2 separate regions of the Homo sapiens genome follow, and region 2 is linked to region 1. The links are contacts of gene promoters, found by promoter capture Hi-C in human tissues and cell types (Jung and others, 2019). All regions are on one chromosome and are shown on one strand. The core of a region is centred on a gene start or on the middle of the fragment in contact, and the rest is flanking DNA. Distances in the headings are between cores, read along the strand shown.

Region 1 (2,670 bases), core at 97-2,596:
TCAGCTGAAAACTCAGCCTGAGGCCTGTTGTCGTTATTGAAAAGGAGGAGAAACAAACACGGGAAAGTGTAAAAGAATTCACCTTCTTGCTCTAAGAGGAGACTTTCTCTTAAATGTTTTTAGAAGGGTCTGAAGAAATTAAGGCAATGAGCACACACCACCTAAAACCACAAACAGAGACACACTCACTCTGCTCTGCTCCTATGGGAAACTCTTTCCTCTTTCCTTTTTAGCTTGGCGCCAGCCCAAAGGGATGGGTTGAACATCAGGAAGCTCTTAGCCCCAGCTCTGCCACTCACTCGGCGGCCTTGGAAAGAGTACTTGCCCTTGCAGGAACTCAAGCTCCCTCATCTTTAAAATGAGGGAGTCAACTGAGATGAACTCTAAGGTCCCTTCCAGCCCTGACCCTCTATCCTTCCAAGACATTCTCCAGCAGGGCAAAATGTCAGGCATGGAAAGAACCCAACTCGCCATGCTGCTTTGACAGCTGGAGCTGCGATCCCTTCACTAGGAGTGATCATTTTTTCTAACTTCAGTGAGAAACTGGGCCACAGAATGGGGAGGAATGCATTTGACTCCACGACCTTAATAACAACTCTTTCAGGGACACCTAAGCTAGTCCAGCAGAGTGGGGTATTGACCTTTCACATGTTTTTCTTCAAGATTTAGTTTCTCTTAACCGGGCGCGGTGGCTCACGCCTGTAATCCCAGCACTTTGGGAGGCTGAGGTGGGTGGATCACCTGAGGTCAGGAGTTCAAGACCAGCCTGACCAACATGGAGAAACCCAGTCTCTACTAAAAATAGAAAAAATTAGCTAGGCGTGGTGGTGCATGCCTGTAATCCCAGCTACTTGGGAGGCTGAGGCAGGAGAATTGCTTGAACCTGGGAGGCAGAGGTTGCAGTGAGCCAAGATCGCGCCATTGCACTCCAGCATGGGCGACAAGAGCGAAACTCCATCTCAAAAAAAAAAAAAGATTTAGTTTCTCTTTGTGATTTCTCACAGTCTCAGAAAAGATACCTGGGAGTGTGGGAAGAATAGGAGTTAGGGAACTTGAGAGGTCCTGGTTAAAATCTTGTATTTGACACGCTCTAGCTGTGGGATAATAGGAATTTTCTTAACTTTCCTGAGCCTCATTTTATTCATATATATATATATATATGTGAGAAGGTAATCATACCCATAAAACTATTGTGAGAGGTAAAGAAGGTAAGTGTTTATTAGAGGCACAAAAAGGCACATTATCTGCTGGTACTAAACAATAGAATGCCAGGGGTGTTCAATATCTTAGGCTGCACATTGCCCTGCAATAACTGGCTTAGGGTATGAAATTCTTAGAAGGACTAACAAGACTCCCCCATGATGACCTATTCATCCACCTACCTCCTCACTCTGTTCCACTGTCTCCCTTAAGAGAGATGGCACCGGCCAGAGCAGGATGCTGCCCCCTGCTGCTGCTGCTTCTGGGGCTGTGGGTGGCAGAGGTCCTAGTCAGAGCCAAGCCCAAGGACATGACATCATCTCAGTGGTTTAAAACTCAGCATGTGCAGCCCAGCCCTCAAGCATGCAACTCAGCCATGAGCATCATCAATAAGTACACAGAACGGTGCAAAGACCTCAACACCTTCCTGCACGAGCCCTTCTCCAGTGTGGCCATCACCTGCCAGACCCCCAACATAGCCTGCAAGAATAGCTGTAAAAACTGCCACCAGAGCCACGGGCCCATGTCCCTGACCATGGGTGAGCTCACCTCAGGGAAGTACCCAAACTGCAGGTACAAAGAGAAGCACCTGAACACACCTTACATAGTGGCCTGTGACCCTCCACAACAGGGTGACCCAGGGTACCCACTTGTTCCTGTGCACTTGGATAAAGTTGTCTAAGCCCTGGTGCCCACGTTCCACCTCACACTCTGCAGACTGTATGCTGCTGCTTTTCCTCCCTCCAGTTCGTTATTAATCCTTGCTCCCCACTGCAAATGCCATTTCCCTCCCACACACTCAACCTCACATACTCTTGGTTTCTTAGGGAGTTTTACAGACGCTCCAAACGATGAAAGAAGAGGGCAGATTCTCTTCAGCCTTTCATTGTAGCTTACTTTGCAGCCCTTCCAGAGTCAAGCACTCAGGATCCCCACAAGGATGGATCTGGGTTTGGTGAGGCCTGTGGCTCACCAAAGACCCTCTTAAAGAAAAAGAATATAAAATTACAAACGTAAATAAGTCAGATCCTTGGAAGGGCTGTGGCTGGACAGTCCAGGGAGATCCCAGACAGGGGTAATTATCTAAGGAAGGAAGGAAGGGGAATCTCTGCTGTGTTCCCTGTGTTGGGCAAAGAAATGCATCTGATCTTGCTGTAATAAAGACTCTGCTGTTGCTGATGGAGTGTGTGTTACTGTCTTGGGGTAAGTGGAGAGGTTTGGAGCTCCAATTCCAAGGCCCTGAAAAGGCCCTGAAACACTTACTTCTGTGAGGCATCAGCTCCACCTGCCTTGCAGGCCGGAGGGAGAGCAGCACCCTGAGCAGGCACAGTCTGGGAAGCTGGCTTGATTCTGTCCTCCAGCCCCTTGAGGGCTCTCTGGTGGCCCCCTCTCATGTGAAGGGGTAGAGTGACAGGAAGGACAGGCTGAGCCCTGGGATGCCAGTCAGGTCTGAGGCCTGACCCCCTTGTG
Region 2 (2,670 bases), core at 71-2,570, 180 kb before region 1:
GACTGAGGGATGTCACCACACCTAGGCAGACTTTGTCAGAAGCTGTTGTCTATTCTTTGTCATACTCCAAAGAGTTTCCAAAGAGTATAATTTACAAACTATGGTAGGTTCTTTGGGCCCATTCAACTCTCCTAAAAATAATTTCCTATTCCTCAAAATTGCCTACATTCCGCCATCTCTCTCTCTCCTGTGAAGAAGGGCATATAGATTCTGAACCTCACTGGGTTACTGGGAAGTCACTCTCTCATCATTCCCCCATGAATACAATAAACTTGCCTTTTTCTGCAGCTAATCTTCCATCGGTTAATTTCGGCAAACTCAAACCTTAAAGGGAAAGGGAAATTCCCCTTTACCCCTACATATGCAAATTAATTATTTAGATTAATAATTGCTAGATATAAAATTGGCATATGGTTTATTTATTTTTATATTTCAGCACAGGGGAGGGAAAAATGACTTCCTTCCACCCTCTTAGGTTTTTTGTGGCTGGGCTACAAGTTAAATTACATAAGACGGATTAACACAAGAAAAACTGTATTAAATTATGTGTGTATACATAGGAGTCCCACAAAAATATAAGACTCAAAGAAAGGCCAGATGAATAAAGCTTATATAGCATCTTAAGCTACAGAAAGAAACAGAGGCTTGGGGCTTCTGGAGAGTGGTGGTGCAAGTTACCGGAGCGTGAGAGGAGGAAACATATAGTAAATACATGGTAAATAAAGGTTGCCTTGTTATGCAGATAAGAGTCTCTCAGGGGATAAAAATTGCCTTGGAGCAGCTCTCTTCCTGATCAAAAACACCTTTACCAGTGAAAATTTCTTTTATAGATCTAAATTTCTTTTACAAAAGGGCAGCTTTTCAGAGCTAACTCCTGTGCGGGCAGTTTCTCTAAATAAATAGTTAATAATCAATATGCTAGAGAGGAATATTTTGGAGTGATGTGTTCTGAGCCCTAACCCCAGCAACAGGCAGAAACTGAAATGTTAAAATGATTCAATTTGCAATACTATTAAAAATATTAAGTTCATAAGGAGAAAAACTAGGAAAAGATAAACAAGAACTTTATGGACAAAAGTACAAAACTTTATTGTGAGACATTAAGGTAACCAGAGAGTTAGAGCATGTTTATAGATTGCAAGACTCACTAATTTAGATACATCAATTTTTCTGCAAATTGACCTATAGATTTGTAATTGCCTGATGGGTTCTTCCTGCCTGCTGCACAGACAAAATCAGTTCACTGAGACCATGGCATTGCAGTAAAGAAAGGGTTTCATTGACACAAGACTGGCAACGAGGGAGACAGAGTTATTACTCAAATCAGTCTTCCTGCAGGCTTGGAGGTTAGGGGTTTGCGAGGATAGTTTGGTGGGCAGGTGGCTAGAGAATGGGTGCTGCTGATTGGCTGGGAATGAAATCATATAGGTGTGAAAAACAATCCTCGTGGGCTGCCTCGTGGGCTGAGTCTGCATCTGGGTGGAACCACATGACTGGTTGAGTTATGAGCCCTGGTTCCATAGGTTGCCAGAATGCAAAAATCTGAAAAAACATCTCAAAAGACAAAACTCAGGTTCCACAGTAGTGATGTTACCTATAGGAGCAATTGGAGAAGTGACAAATCTTGTGACCTCTGGTCACGTGACCCTTGAGCAGTAAGGGATTATAGAAAATACATTTCATCAGAATTCAGGAGCCTCTCATAATCCTAACCTTGCAGCCTTTCACTAGTTTTACAGAGTTTTGGGAAAGGCTACTATCATCCTCACTTTACAGTTGAACTATAAACTAAATTCCACCTGATGTAGGTTGGCCTATGCCCAGGAATGACCATGGACAGCTTGGAGGTTAGAAGCAAGATAAAGTCAACTATGTCAGATTTCTCTTACTGTCAAAATCTTTGCAAAGGCAGTTTCAGATTCAGTACAATTCCAATCAAATTCTCAACCCAGTTTTTGTTTGTTTAGTTTGGGAACTTACTGATTCTAGAGGATATATAGATGTATAAGAATAGCAAAGACACCTTCAAAAAAAACAAACTAAAAAACAAGGTGAGAGAGTTTGTTCTACCAGAGTACATATAAAATAGAAAACAATATCTTGTTACATAAAAGCCTAGTATTGCTCATTGACAGGTAGCCTTGTTCCATGTATCATTCAGAGACACAGATTACTTCCATCTTGTGGTTCTGTCATTTCCTCATCCATTTAATGTAGCTGGCAAACAGAATAGAAGGTGGAGAAGCACACTTTCTCAACTGCGTTGGCCATTTTTCACTGGCATGGCCTTCAAGTGGGAACTATAGTTCCTACCTGAGCTGTCGCTTCTCAGCATCAACCCTACACCATGCAAGAGTGAGCATAAGCCTGAGGGCAGCTAGTTACTACAGCCACAGCAATGTAAATGGTGTTGCCAGTTTCCTCTTTGTCACAGATAGGACAAGAATAGATGCAATACAGTTAAATATGAAAGTAGAGAGAAATCTAACACAGAGTTTCCCAAAAATGAGTTAGATAAGACCCAGGAACTTGTGCAAACTCTCATCAGTGATCGACACCATGTCAACAAACTTGCAAGGAGAAAGAAAGGTCAATCCCAAAACTGGACCAAAAACACTTTATCTCCTTATTAGAAAACAATGGCAACATTAATAATACTACACTGCAATA

The links. The method cuts DNA at HindIII sites, captures the fragments that hold promoters and counts their contacts. A contact is called where the count stands out against the background at its distance.
Region 2: a contact is called between a fragment that was not itself captured here and the fragment with the promoter of RNASE8 in region 1, in 1 of the 25 tissues and cell types used here (spleen).

Annotation. Positions count from the first base shown.
Region 1 is chr14:21,056,476-21,059,145 of GRCh38, forward strand. RNASE8 (ribonuclease A family member 8) reads left to right here and starts at 1,347. Exons shown (of 1, transcript NM_138331.2): 1 at 1,347-1,980. The coding sequence starts at 1,418. The coding sequence ends at 1,882. It also overlaps a transcript of NDRG2 not described here. The HindIII fragment of the contact is 9,179 bases long and covers 1-2,670 here.
Region 2 is chr14:20,877,260-20,879,929 of GRCh38, forward strand. All of the region lies in intron 1 of LOC100507513 (a long non-coding RNA gene), which reads right to left. Among named protein-coding and RNA genes, the nearest start is that of RNASE3, 13 kb to the right of the region's middle. The HindIII fragment of the contact is 3,417 bases long and covers 1-2,670 here.